Regions from separate parts of the Homo sapiens genome. Here all the other regions are linked to region 1. The links are contacts of gene promoters, found by promoter capture Hi-C in human tissues and cell types (Jung and others, 2019). All regions are on one chromosome and are shown on one strand. Each heading gives the region's core, a stretch centred on a gene start or on the middle of the fragment in contact. The rest is flanking DNA. Distances are from core to core; before and after follow the strand shown.

Region 1 (4,995 bases), core at 1,131-3,630:
TCCACCTGCCTCGGCCTCCCAAAGTGATGGTATTACAGGCGTAAGCCACCGCGCCCGGCCCGGACCTTAATTCTTAAGTCATAGAAATGGTTTAAGGAGACCAAGTGTGGTAGCTCATGCCTGTAATCCCAGCACTTTGGGAGGCCAAGGCGGGCAGATCACCTGAGGTCAGGAGTTTGAGACCATCCTGGCCAACATGGTGAAAACCTGTCTCTACTAAAAATACAAAAAAATTAGCTGGGCAGGGTGGCAGGCGCCTGTAATCCCAGCTACTTGGGAGGCTGAGGCAGGAGAATTGCTTGAACCTCGGAGGCGAAGGTTGCAGTGAGCTGAGATCACGCCATTGCACTCCAGCCTGGGCGACAAGAATGAAACTCCGTCTCAAAAAAAAAAAAAAAAGAAATGGTTTAGGGAGGAAAGTTCAGACTCAGGTGTTAAGCTTTATTATTTTCGTAAAAATGATACACATTCAGGGCCAGGCACAGTGGCTCACGCCTGTAATCCCAGCACTTTGGGAGGCCAAGGTGGGTAGATCATGAGGTCAGGAGACTGAGACCATCCTGGCTAACACGGTGAAACCCCGTCTCTACTAAAAATACAAAAAATTAGCCAGGCGTGGTGGCGGGCACCTGTAGTCCCAGCTACTCGGGAGGCTGAGGCAGGAGAATGGCGTGAACCTAGGAGGTGGAGTTTGCAGTGAGGTGAGACTGCGCCACTGCACTCCAGCCTGGGGGACAGAGCGAGACTTCGTCTCAAAAAAAAAAAAAAAAAAAAAAGAGATACACATTCATTCAGGGTGGTCAGACTCAAATAAGAAAATCATTACACAGAAGCAAGTAAAAGCTGAAATATGAATACTACGTCTAGAAACACATTATTATAAACAGCTTGACATAAATGGTATTATACCCTCCAAGCTTATACAGAGAGTATAAGGTGTTCTATGAGTCTGAACTTTCCTCCCTAAACCATTCTGAACCTCCTGAGAGAACTCATCCTTCCCTGCAGCAGGAGGACACTCCCACTCAGTATCTTGCTGAATAAAAAGAGTCCTTACAAAGGTCCTTGTTTTGGCCGGGTGTGGTGGCTCACACCTGTAATCCCAGCACTTTGGGATGCCGAGGCAGGCGGATCACCTGAGGTTGGGAGTTCCAGACCAGCCTAATCAACATGGAGAAACCCCATCTCTACTAAAAATACAAAATTAGCCGAGCGGGGTGGCGCATGCCTGTAATCCCAGCTACTCGGGAGGCTGAGGCAGGAGAATCACTTGAATCTAGGAGGAGGAGCTTGCGGTGAACAGAAATGGCGCCATTGCACTCTAGCCTGGGCAACAGGAGCAAAACGCCATCTCAAAAAAAAAAAAAAACAAAAAAACAAAAAGTCCTTGTTTTTATTCTACCAGCAACAAAACAAATAAGCATCTCTGATGGTTCTAAACCTCTGTCCCAAATCTAAAATCAAAATATATTATTCTCAAAAGAGCAGACCAGGAACCCTGAAGTCCAGCTGTGAGCAGAACAGACAGCTAGCACTCACCTGAATTGGGATCATAGTAGCAGAGCAGAGTGAAACATTTCTTTTTGAGCTGCTCCTCTACTTCTTGCTGTAGCCGAGCCCTCATCCACACAAAATCCTACAGTCATAGAAGTAAAGGCAGAAATGCGAATAGACTGTAAAAACTAGGACGTCTCAGCCAATGAATACATGATGATAACCTCAATAATAGCCAAAGAAAATGCATCAAGAGACATCAGAGAGACTCATTTTTCACCTATCAAATTAGCGAAGAATAAAATGACTGTCAAGACCCCATGTTGGTGAGAACATGGGGGATCCAGGAGCCCTGAAAATACCTTTCTGGATAGCAGTTTGGCATTAGGTACCAATATTCTGTATGAGTATGCACTGACTCAGGAATCCCACTTTTAGCACCAGCATTACAGAAATAATCATACAAAGGTAAAGACACATATGAACCAGCATGTTCATCTCCCTGTGGTTTCTAACAGCAAAAATGTGGAAACAACCTTAATATCCACCAATAAGGTTAAGCAAATTATTCTACATCCATATAATAGAATCCTAGCAGAGATTTAAACTGATGACATAACACTAAGCACTATGTGCCTAGATACTTTGCTAACAGTGCTATAGAAGCTATCATCTTATTTACATTTATGTATTGACTTGAAAAGAAATCCAAAATATATTACATGAAAATAGACTGTACTTTTCTTTTTTTGAGACAGGGTCTCACTCTGTGCCCAGGCTGGAGTACAGTGGCATGATCACAGCTCACTACAGCCTTGACCTCCCACCCTCAAGTCATCCTCCTGCCTCTGTCTCCCGAGTAGCTGGGACTACAGGTGTGCACCACCAAACCTGGCTTTTGTTTTGTTTTTTTTTTGGTAGAGACGAGGTCTCACTATGTTGCCCAGGCTGGTCTTGAACTCCTGAACTCAAGTGATCCTCCCACCTCAGCCTCCCAAAGTGCTACGATTATAGGCGGAAGTCACTACACTCGGCCTTATACTCTCTATATAAGCATGAAGGGTATAATACCATTTATGTCAAGCTGTTTATAATAATATTGTGCTTCTAGATGCAGTATTTCAGCTTTTACTTGCTCCTGTGTAACGTTTTTCTTATTTGAGTCTGACCACCCTGAATGTGTATCATTTTTACAAAAACAATAAAGCTTGACAAAAAAAACATTTTAAAGATATGGGAGAAATTAAACCATTTCATTTATTTGGTTCCAATATCTCCCCGCCAACCTCTGAGAGTGGCATGAGTTCCAGAAGGTCCGCTTTCTCCAGCCCCAGCAGTGGAGGTATCTCCCTCTCCTGGCTAGGACCTAAGAGCCGCATCAGTTCAGTTACAAGCAGCCGCTGTTCAAGGGTCTCATGAAACTGAGAGAGAGAGAATAAAAAACAAAAAGAGGCAACTATAAAACTTCTCCCACTCCACCTCTTCCATCCTTATGAACCAGTTTTTCACATATTTTCAAAGTCCTCAAATATATCATCCCCCCTCAGATAACTCAGCTGCGAGTGACTTCTGTCAATGTTTCTATTACAAACTCTGATAACACATCCACTCCTTCCCCATAACTACAGTCCATTTCTCTTTTGACAAACCATTTCTCAAAGCTCCTACTTCCCCTAGATCACATCATCAGACAAAGCCACAGTTGGCCTGGTCATTCCTGTAACTGGTAACCAACCCCACCTCATTTCTTTCACCTCACTTTTTTTTGAGACTGAGTTTCGCTCTGTCACCCAGGCTGGAGTGCTGTGGCGCAATCTCGGCTCACTGCAATCTCCGCCTCCCAGGTTCAAGCGATTCTGCTGCCTCAGCCTCCCGAGTAGCTGGGATTACAGGCGTGTGCCACTGCACCTGGTTAATTTTTGTATTTTTAGTAGAGACGGGGTCTTACCATGTTGGCCAGGCTGGTCTCAAACTCTTGACCTCAAGTGATCAGCCTGCCTGGGGCTCCCAAAGTGCTGGGATTACAGGTGTTAGCCACCACGCCCAGCCTTTGCCTCACCTTTTTGTCCTCAGAAGTTACATTTGTGTCTTGTATCTTCACATAGTAGTCCACAAGCAACTCTTGAATGACTCTGTGTAAAATCTCAGACCTCAACCATGTTGTCTTATGCAGTCGAACTTCCTTCCATGCCTAGAAATCCAAAAAATCTCAGGTAGGAACCTCTCTCTCAGGATTTTCCCTTCTTCTTATCTCTTCTCCCAAAGCCCTTACCTGAGCCTGCTCCTTTGCTAGGGTGAGGCTTAAGCCACTCTCATCCACATGCTGTGAGAGATTCAGGAGAAGCTTGCTGAAGTATGGGTTCTGTAACAGGTCCTCTTTACTCAGGTTACAAGGAGGAAGTTGTTTGCTGCACACTTAACATCATGTCCCCACAGGTACAAAAAAACAAAAAAGGTGTGGACTCTTACTTTACATAACTGAGCATAACTTAATACTTCCAAAAAACCCCTAGGATTTTTATAGGAAAGATTGCTAAATCTAATGAGATTTTTTAAAAATCCACAAATAAACAAGGGTAATATTCAAGGTAACAAGCATTTATATTATATACAAGGATATTAAGGGGGAATAAGTAATAAACTAAGATCTTAGGAAACGGAAATGCAGTTGGTACATATTAGACAAATAGAATAAAAATTAAGGGACCGTTAGTAGGAATCACAATACACAAAATGCCTCATTCATCCAAAATTAATAGAGTTCTTGAAGTAGGGGGAAAGAAACACAACACGTGAAGTTCCAACTTTGGATGTGATATGTAGTCGCATAAACAAGACTAACAGAATACACTTAGAGTAAGTTAAACGTTCAACTAACCAATTTTTTTTTTTTCTTTTTGAGACAGGGTCTCACTCTGTCACCCAGGCTGGAGTGCAGTGGCACAATCACAGCTCACTGCAGCCTTAACCTCCCCAGATCAAGCGATCCTTCCACCTCCTGAGGAGCTGAGACTACAAGGCAAACCACGATGACTGGCTAATTTTTTTTTTACAGACAGGGTCTCACTACATTGCCCAGGCTGGTCTTGAACTCTTGGGCTCAAGTGATCCTCCCACCTTGGCATCTCAAAGTGCTGGGATTACAGGTGTGAGTCACCACAGCTGGCCCAAATTCTTTTTTATTTTTTTCTTTTGAGATGGAGTTTTGCTCTTGTTGCCCAGGCTGGAGTGCAATGGCGTGATCTCGGCTCACTGCAATTTCCACCTCCCGGGTTCAAACGATTCTCCTGCCTCAGCCTCCCGAGTAGCTGGGATTACAGGCATGCGCCACCATGCCTGGCTAATATTTTTTGTTTTTTGTTTTTTTTTTGAGACGGAGTCTCACTCTGTCACCCAGGCTGGAGTGCAATGGCACGATCTCGGCTCACTGCAAGCTCCACCTCCCAGATTCACGCCATTCTCCTGCCTTAGCCTCCCAAGTAGCTGGGACTACAGGCACCC
Region 2 (4,995 bases), core at 1,786-4,285, 420 kb after region 1:
TTGATGTTCGGTGCCTTAGCTTCATGTACAGTGAGTGCCGATGAGCTTCAGTAGACCCTGCTGAGTCCTGTGGATTCAGCACTATTTCAGGAGCTGAGGTCTGGAGCAGCTAAGCTGGTTGGCACCTTTGTGACCATCCAGGTCAATGTTCCCCCCAATCCCCGCCCACCCAAACCCACCCACTTCTACAATTGAAGAGGGAGGAGCAGAGAGAGGGCTCAAGATCCAGAGCTGGTCATTGGCAGGGCCAAGACTTCAAGGCAGCAGGTGGAGACTTGCATATCTTCCTGAGAAGGGGCGGGGAAGACATATTCTCACTTTCTGTAAGCCCCAAGAGCCTTTCCAAGCCAAGATTGGGAAGTGTATTCCACCACATCTTCCCTGCCCTTTCCTAGCAGGTGCTTCTCTCTTTCCTCAGGGCCACAGGGACAGGAATCCCAGGAAGCTCTCTTCAACTGCCAGGTCAGGCCTAGGCAGGTGAAGACGTGCTGGGAGGGGACCTTGATGTCATGTGCCATGCAGACTTTCCTTTGTTCCTGCCTCCAGCCTTCTCCCCATTGCCACCCCCCTATCCTCACACCCCCAAGGGTTCCCTGGAAGCTGAAGTGACTCAGGGATTCCAAAACTAGTCACCTCAGGAGGAAACCCCACTGGAAAATGTTTCTCATGACAGGGAGTCACCCTAAGGAGTCCCACAAAGCTGCTACTGAGATAAGGACAGAGGGTGAGCAAGTGGGGTGGGGTGGGGGCATGTGGCTCAGAGCACAGGTTCTCAGGTCAGTCCTGGTCATCATGGGGGTGGGAAAAGCCAACCCTTCCTGGAGGGTTTCTCCCTCTGTCCTAGAGGGACACCCCAAAGGACTCTTCTGAAGGGCAACGTTCCTGGTGACCTAGGCTGGGTCCTCCCTGCAGCGTCAGCAAGTGAAACAGGTAGTTGGGATCACTTCTGGCTCCTTTGAACACCCCCTCCTGGGCAAGGGTCAAGATAGGAGATCTGAGCCAACTCCATTTCTACTACCTTCTTAGCCCTGAGGTTCTGATTGGTGAGAGCGAGACCCATAGGTATCCAGCTCTTCTGAAACGGCACTGCCTCCTAAGATCCTGTTCTGGGATTGAGGTTTTCCCAGGAGCACGGGAAGCCACCTTGAGGCCATGTCTGCCAGACAAAAGGCTAGGAAAGGGAGCTAGTGCAGTGAATCCGAACAGCAGGGCTGGATACCTAAGTGGGCAGACACACCCTGTGGCCCTCAGCAGGTGCAGTTGAAACTTGTCCCAACCCAAGCCCAGGTGAGCAGGAAAGCATTCACTGTGGGGCTCCCCTTCCATTCACAGCCAACTAGGGGTAGGCACGGTGTGGCACTTCCATGCCAGGAGGTTACATGTGGAATTGGTCAGAGCTGGAATGGGAAACCAGCTCAGCCTCTTTCTTTGTGATCTTGGGTAAGTTACTAAATTTCCTTGGGCCTCAGTTTCCTCATCTGTAACATGGGGATAATAGTTTCCATGTCATGGTTTCATTGTCGGGATAAAATGAGATGATGCATGCCCAGGGCTTAGCACCATGCCTGGCACATGTAAGTGCACAGGAGCTGAGGCCAGCAGGATATGGAAGGGAGAGGACGTCTGCGAGTACTGGGGGCAGAGGGTGAGGCAGTGAGAGTGGGGCCATGATACTGGCCTCATCACTGTTCCTGAGTGCCCCTGCTTTCCCAGCCACCACCTGCTTCTTCTAAGTGCCCTCCATCCCACAGTTCCAGGTGCCCCAAGACTCATCAGAGCAGAGCAGTTTCTCCCAATTTTCCAGATTGCCCTTTGACTTCATCACTTCTCTCTTTTGGGGCTGCTTTGCCCTAACGCATTGGAAAGATTCCTCTCACTGCAGTTTAAGTTATTCCTGGTTCCCTTTGTTGATTTCCTAGTCCTTGGTTACTAGAGGAGTATTTTCTAAGGGAAAGCACATGCAAATCAAGCCACATCATTCTAGGGGCAATGTCTGTGTATGGGTATGTTGGGTGCGTATGGGGGATGAGGCAGGCCAATAGGCAAGCATGAAGAGAAGGACCTGGGGGGAAGGACACACTGGCCCACTCTCAGCACAGTGTCTCCCAAGCAGGCTGGACCCGGCTGACCTGTGTCTTTGGGGTCAAGCCCAACTGTAAGCCTTTCTGGGGCACACATACACCCTCCTGGCTAACAGTGGCCCATGTTTCTGGACCTGCTGAGGCTGAGTGGGCTCACTTCATGGCCTGAAAGCAGTAGCTGACCCTGTCATGGGCTTGGTCCCCAAGGCTCTGTGAATGAGAGCAGGTTGGTTCCTGGAACTGAGACCTCCTTCCTGTTGGGTCTTAGGTGAGGCTGTTTCAGTTTCCCTCCTCTTCCTTGCTTCACCTTCTCATTTGTGCAATGGGGACACTCACCCACAGCTTCTTCCATCAGACCTTGCCCATCCAGCCAACAAACTTAGGAAGTCAGGGTCTTCCAGCAGCCCTGTGAGGGTAGGCTTGTATCCCCGGTGGGGGGCAGTGACTGGCGAGGGCAAGGGGGAGTTAGGGAGTGGGTCATGGACAATGGGGGAGAAGTCATAGCTGATGGGGGTCATAGAATTTTGGGGTCATTGAAAATGTGGAAGAGGTCAGAGAACAAAGGGGATGGGAGTCAAAGGATGTCTAAGGGAAAGGAAATAATCACGAAGGTGGATGATCAGAGGGACACCTGGGAAGAGGGGAATGGTGAAACCAGACCCTGGATGGGGGGAGCAGGGATCATGGAAACGAGGCCTCTTGAAGGGAGGCCACAAGACATTTCCTAATTTTGGCTACCAAACCAACCAGGGAAATCCCGCTAATGCCAGTTCACAAGAATGCAGAACAGCAGACTGTTATTGCTTTGACCCCATGGCCAGAAAAATTCAAAGAGCAAAGTTTACCCAATCAGCTACCAGGCATATAATGATGGTCATCACAACTTCCATGAGTATTGCATTTTAAGCAGCCTTTGGAAATACTTTCAGAGTTTTTTTGGTTTTGTTTTTTAACCTCAAGTCACTCCCTAAAAAGACAGTGGAAATAAATTTGAATAAACAAAACAGGCTTGCTGAAAATAAAATCAGGACTCCTAACCTGCTCCAGTCAGCCTGCTTCCACGAGGCCTGTCAGTCAGTGCCCCACTTGTGACTGAGTGTGCAGTGCCCAGCATGTACCAGGTCAGTGCAGAGGGCTGCCTGAGGGCTGTGCTGAGAGGGAGAGGAGCAGAGATGCTGCTGAGGGTGGAGGGAGGCCAAGCTGCCAGGTTTGGGGCTGGGGGCCAAGTGGAGTGAGAAACTGGGATCCCAGGGGGAGGGTGCAGATGAGGGAGCGACCCAGATTAGGTGAGGACAGTTCTCTCATTAGCCTTTTCCTACAGGTGGTTGCATTCTTGGCAATGGTCATGGGAACCCACACCTACAGCCACTGGCCCAGCTGCTGCCCCAGCAAAGGGCAGGACACCTCTGAGGAGCTGCTGAGGTGGAGCACTGTGCCTGTGCCTCCCCTAGAGCCTGCTAGGCCCAACCGCCACCCAGAGTCCTGTAGGGCCAGTGAAGATGGACCCCTCAACAGCAGGGCCATCTCCCCCTGGAGATATGAGTGAGTCTGCTGCCCCTCCCGAATGCCTGCCCTGTGTGTGCTGGCCAGGGTATGCGTGAGGGACCAGGGCAATTCCAGCTTACTTTCCCATTTTGATCTCAGAGGGGCTGTAAAGGTTTGGGAGTTAGACAAGGTCTGTATTTGAGTCCTAGCTCTGACTCTCATTGGATGATCTTGAGTCAATTCAAGTTTTCAAAACTCAGGGTTTTTTTTTTTTTCACCTGCAAAATGATATAATGCCCCATAGGCTAATGTGCAGATCAAATGAAATATAATGTATGTAAAAGTCTGTATTTATGTTGGTTCTCTCCTTTTCTTTTAAAACATCCCTATAATGGCCCATGTTTTTTCTGGGTAAAATATTAGGGAATAATGGCATGATACAGGCATGAAGCATCCCAATACCAATTGATACTGCCCTGGCCATGAATGGGTTAGTTATAAGCATACTAAAGGAGTGAAACCCTTAACTTTTGGGGGCAGCTGGCTGGCTGGAGCTGTGGACTGGATATCTTTGATCATGATCATGGGTACTGTATTCTTTCACTCAGTGTGCCACATAAATATTATAGTTCTCTATTTGTGCCATGATATGAAAAATATTAGGAAGTGCTGAAATATGAATGATGAAGCAAAATATTAAAAACTAGGGTCTTAGGGATTCCAGACATGTGATTTCACTTCTTCCTTCTAGTTCTGTCTTAGCATTGGCTTTGGGGGTAGATGGAGAAGTTCAGTGGTGGGGAGGGGGTCAGATCTAACTGAGATTGGATCTAGTGTGGACACTACAGGTCATGACTCTTTGGAGTGGTCTCAGAAGCTGGCTGGGTCCTGGGCCAAATCAGATGGCATGGGAGCTTCTTAGGGGAGGCGGGTGCCAGAGGTTAACTCAGCTGTCTTCCAGACCCCTTGCTGGGAGTCTGTGAACCCGAGAACCACTCAGGTGGCTTTCCCCAAAGTGTGTTCTGTGCAATGCTCATCCCATGAGCTGCTTCTCAGAAAAAAGTGATGCCAGGTAAACTTGGGAAAGACTGCTGTATCTCCTACCCCTTGGAGATTCATACTGTCATTGTACATTAAAGTCTGCAAGAAGTCTGTAGAAAGTAAACCGTTAAACTGGTGTTTCCCAAATTCATTTAAGCACCCAACAGGTGCAGGTGATTTATTAGGGAACCCACTTTGGGAAGTGATGTGCTAGCTAATTCCATTTGCCAGGGCTTGTCTGTGTGGGGAATGGTCCCACAAGCTGGAGACTGTCGCCTGCCAGACTAATGGAGTCGCAGACCTGTGGGACATCTACTTTTCAGTGTTTTTCATCTTTCTTTCTTTCTTTCTTTTTTTTTTTTTGCCATGAAATCCTTTCAGAATAAGT
Region 3 (4,995 bases), core at 1,362-3,861, 310 kb before region 1:
TCTAAAAGAGATGTGAAGAAACCTGATTTCAGAAAAATCACAGAAACAGAGGAAAAATTAAGGGACGGCAAAGTTTTTTCATGGATATTTGTCCTGGGCCATTAGTCTGGAAAGCAAACCAACTACCAGGAAAACTGATAGATTCCAGGGACAAGGTCAAATAGGGCTTCTATACCTAGGAAGGACTCTGGATAGCAGAGGCCACGTAATTACCAGTGACTAAGAAGAATATGGATTGGACTAGGAAAAACAAGAATAATCTAGTAAAGGAAGAGGACTGCAGAAATCCCGAGGACTGAGTTGACCTCTGCCCATCTAAGCTGAGTCAGAACATCAGCCACTCCTGCACAGAACCTGTCCTCACGACCTGCCCTACCTTCCTATAGCCTTGGCACATGGACAGTCTCTCCAGACAACTCACCACATTTGCATTGCCAAGGATCTTTTCTTTCTTAACAGCTTTATTGATATATAACTCAAGTACCATACATTCCACCCATTTAAAATATACAATTCAATAGCTTTTAGTGTATTCACAAAACTGTGTGTCCATCACCACAATCAACTTAAGAATATATATATATATATATATATATATATATATATATATATATTTGAGATGGAGTCTCGCTCTGTCACCCAGGCTGGAGTGCAGTGGCACGAGCTCAGCTCACTGCAACCTCCACCTCCAGGGTTCAAGCGATTCTCCTGCCTCAGCCTCCTGAGTAAGCTGGGATTACAGGCGTGTGCCACCATGCCCAGCTAATTTTTGTATTTGTAGTAGAGATGAGGTTTCACCGTGTTGGTCAGGCTGGTCTCCAACTCCTGACCTCATGATCTTCCCGCCTTGACCTCCCAAAGTGCTGGGATTACAGGGACAAGCCACCATGCCTGGCAGATTTAAGGATATTTTAATGATCCCTCCTCCATTCCCTGGAAACTATTTTTCTACTTTCTGACTATGGATTTGCCTATTCTGGACATTTCATATAAATGAATCATACCATATGTGGTCCTTTGTATCTAGCTTCTTTCACTTACTATAATATTTTCTTTATTTTTATTTTTAAATTTTTTTTAGAGACAGGGTCCTGCTCTGTCAGTGAGGCTGTAGTGCAGTGGCATGAAGATAGCTCACTGCAGCCCCAAACTCCTGGGCTCAAGTGATCCTCCTGCCTCAGCCTCCCAAGTAGCTAGGACTACAGGTGCACACCATCACACCTGGATAATTTTTTTTTTTTTTTGAGATGGAGTTTTACTCTTGTCACCCAGGCTGGAGTGCAATGGTGCAATCTCTGGTCACTGCAACCTCCGCCTCCCCGGTTCAAGCGATTCTCCAGCCTCAGCCTCCCAAGTAGCTGGGATTACAGGCGTCTGCCACCACGCCCAGCAGATTTTTGTATTTTTAGTAGAGACAGGGTTTCCCCATGTTGGCCAGGCTGGTCTCGAACTCCTGACTTCAAGTGATCCATCCACCTCGGCCTCCCAAAGTGCTGGGATTACAGGCGTGAGCCACCGTGCCTAGCCTAATTTTTTTTTTAATTAGAAAATAATTTTACTTTTTTTATTTTTTGAGACAGGGTCTCACTCTGTCACCCAGGCTGGAGTGCAGTGGTGCAATCATAACTCACTACATCCTCGACCTCCCAGGCTCAAGTGATCCTCCCACCTCAGACTCCCAAGTAACTGGGACTACAGGCACACACCACCATGCCCGGCCAATTTTTGTATTTTTTGTAGTGATAGGGGTTTTGCCATATTGCCCAGGCTGGTCTCGAACTCCTGGGCTCAAGCGATCTTCCTGTCTTAGCATCCCAAAGTGCTGAGATTACAGGTGCAGGCCACTTACTATAATATTTGTAAAGGTTCATCTATGTTATAGCATGGATCATTGCCAAGGATCTTAAAGAACCAATGTAGCAGGAGAAAAGGCCACAGCCCCAAGAAGAAGCCCTGACCCCTGGCATGGCAGAAACACACACACACACACACACACACACACACACACACACACACACACACACAGAGAGAGAGAGAGAGAGAGAGAGAGAGAGAGAGACAGCAGTTACTAAATGTAGATATATGCACAGTCTGTAAAATCTAGAAGAATAGTATGGAGGATGAATTTGGACTTGGTCACCAAATCTGGAAATGGTAGGATGAGGGATCAAGACTTAATTCATTTAACTCTCAAAATACATCTTTGCATAAGGTGCAACTGCACCCACTGGAAAATCATTTCCTCACATCAGAAATATTAAGAAGCTTAATGAAGGCAAAGATACACACCTGAGATTATAACAGGAACAGCTGCTCCCAGCCAGCCCCCAAATGCCAAACGATTGGTCTGCACTCACCTCGGCTAGGGTTGCCTTATGCCACCTCCACGGCTCAGTCTGTTCACCTGGGATTTGCTGCCACCTAGGATCTTCCACGGTAATTATCTTGACCAAAAAGCCACAGTGCATTCCACATGAGAGCAGCAGTGTTTGACAGGTGAAATGAGCCCTTCCCAACTCATGTGGATTGTTGCCTTAGCTGTGACCTCTTGTCCGACGAGCATGCACTTGTGTTGTAGACAGCTGGAAGGTACATGTTGGATTTTTACACTGCTGAGGAAGTTACAAGGTATGACATCCATTCCAGCATAGAGAGGTCTACAAATCCTCTTGCCCTAATCCTGAGTGTGTGAGGAAATCACCTTCGGTTAAGCATTGACCAGCTGCACCTCCCACACTGTCTACACAATCTGATCCAGTTGGGGAGAGAAAAGGGGCACTCTCCACTAAGCTCCTGGATGGTGCTTTATTCTCCTCTCCTGCTACCATCTTTCCTGCACCCTCTCCAGTCTTCTGCTCAGCCCAGTCTTCTGGGTGCTTCTTGATTCCAGAGAAAATGGGAAAAGAAACACTGTGTTACCTGATGGACAACAGCCATCAACCTGCTTCTTCCTCTGTCCCCTCAACCCAACGTGCACTACCACCACCACCATCCCCATCATATTTTTTTCAGAGACTGGCAGGCCAAGCGTCCCAAGGACTAAACTTCCTCTAGGGTTACTGCAGGATAGTCAAATCCTGTTGAGGGGTAGCTGGTGCATGAGAAAACTCTGGACTTGAAGCCAAGAGTCTGGGTTCAAGTCCCACCTGTGCCTTTTACCATTCTTGAGACTGGAAAAATTGCCTCCATTTTCATACTATCTGCAAATGAATCCTCATGTGACAAACAGCGGTAATGCTCTTTTCCTCCTCTTCCTCATGAGGTTGAGAAGCACAAAACGGAAAATAAGATAACTCATATGATAATCGATCATTGCCAAGGATCGTGAAGAACAAATGTATGATAATTCATATGATGTGTGAAATCATAAAACACCATATTGCTTTATTTTCTAGAACCCCTCCTATTCTGCAATACTGGAAAAGAACAAACCTTATCTTCCTTGTCCCTACTGAGATATTGATCATCCCACCCTAGAGGGAAGAATACTGTCCCTTCTGGCTCTGGAATACATCTCATCAGGCCCATGCTTCTGCCTTAATCAACTATTCTCCCCTTGGACAGCATATCTGGTTGGCTACAAAGTGTGAAGACAAAGGGAAGATGCTTCTCTACATGGGAATTTCGGTTGCCCAGGATTCCTGGAAATGAAGAAACTACTTCCTGTCCTCCACCATCTGCACTCTACAGAGGAGTCAGTAAGCTGGAAGGGATTCAGCGGGAGGACTCAGAAATACTCACATTTGCCTAAATAAGGTAGAGGGGGCTGGCCCCCAGCATATCCTGCCCACACAGCTGCCCCAGGCTTCCGTGCTGGGCGCTGAGGCTTGCGTTGCTGCAAACAGACTCTGCACTGTCAGGGCTGAAGGGGGCATACTCTAGAAGGGTCCCATGTTTGGACCCCACTTGGGAGGGTTGGGGTGGGATTGGCTCAGGTGAGAGCATGCACTTTCTGAGAAACCTCCAAACATGGGGCACTCCTCAGGGGCACATTACGAAGCTGTCCCTGAACACCAAGCCTGAGTCTGATGCCCCTGAGGCCCACTTAGGAAAGGATGCAAACCTAAACATCTACACTAACAAGAACTGGGAACAGAACACTAGCCAAGATCAACACCCCCAGGCCTATCTCAGAGAGCCTCACAGCATACAGTCCTCCATCCACCCCCTCTCCAGCCCCACTGTGACAGTTCCATCCATCCCTACCACTCCATTTACCCAGGACCCTCCTCTTCAACATCCTAATACACTGTGATCAATATGCCAAAGCTTCAGTAACCTTGCACTATGTGAAACAAAAGGTCCCACACTGCATAGCCTGGCACTCAAGACCCCCTAATCCCAGTCTCCCTTGAATTACCGCCCAGACTCAGCTCCTGTCTTACACATCACCTTGCGCATCTTTTACTTCGGTTGAGCCACTCTATTCACTGTGCCCCACGCTGGCCCTCACTTTCTTACTGCACACTCGGGCCCCAAGTGTCCTACCATTGGGACCATCTTCTCCACCGCCTAGTCTCTAGGCCCTACTCTTGTCCCTTTTCCTAGCCTAAGCTAGGTTCTCCCTCTTTAGATATCCTTTTCTTGCACTTGGAATCAGGAATCCACAGTGTAGAACTGGAGTGTTTTTAACCTTTTTTAATTTAAATATAACACATGTACAGAAAAGTATACAAATCATAAGCTCAATGAATTATCAATAAAGTGAACACATTCATGTAACCACCACCCTGGTGAAGAAACAGAATGGTACTAGCACCCCAGAAATCCTTCTCAAGCTCCCTCCCCACATCCCAGCTGTAACCATTATCTTGATTTCTAACACCATGGATTAGTTTTGCCTGTTTTGGAAATTCATATAAATGAAATCATCTAATAGGTCTTGTTTTGTGTCTGACATCTTTTTCTCAACCTTATAGTTTTGAAATTCAATCATGTTGTGGTGTGTGACTCATTTTTATTGCCATATATTTCATCATTTCATTTGTGGTTATT

What was found. The method cuts DNA at HindIII sites, captures the fragments that hold promoters and counts their contacts. A contact is called where the count stands out against the background at its distance.
Region 2: a contact is called between the fragment with the promoter of IL25 here and a fragment that was not itself captured in region 1, in 1 of the 25 tissues and cell types used here (lymphoblastoid cells).
Region 3: a contact is called between the fragment with the promoter of OR6J1 here and a fragment that was not itself captured in region 1, in 1 of the 25 tissues and cell types used here (spleen).

The regions. Positions count from the first base shown.
Region 1 is chr14:22,948,775-22,953,769 of GRCh38, forward strand. It overlaps HAUS4 (HAUS augmin like complex subunit 4), which reads right to left. Exons shown (of 10, transcript NM_001166269.2): 3 at 3,767-3,909; 4 at 3,554-3,685; 5 at 2,781-2,915; 6 at 1,540-1,636. The region is part of intron 2 of PRMT5-DT (PRMT5 divergent transcript); the gene reads left to right. Among named protein-coding and RNA genes, the nearest start is that of MIR4707, 5.8 kb to the right of the region's middle. The HindIII fragment of the contact is 5,650 bases long and covers 1-4,995 here.
Region 2 is chr14:23,369,774-23,374,768 of GRCh38, forward strand. IL25 (interleukin 25) reads left to right here and starts at 3,036. Exons shown (of 3, transcript NM_172314.2): 1 at 3,036-3,202; 2 at 3,403-3,623. The coding sequence starts at 3,194. The HindIII fragment of the contact is 4,168 bases long and covers 2,284-4,995 here.
Region 3 is chr14:22,641,741-22,646,735 of GRCh38, forward strand. OR6J1 (olfactory receptor family 6 subfamily J member 1) reads right to left here and starts at 2,612. Exons shown (of 2, transcript NM_001348233.2): 1 at 2,358-2,612. The HindIII fragment of the contact is 14,040 bases long and covers 1-3,267 here.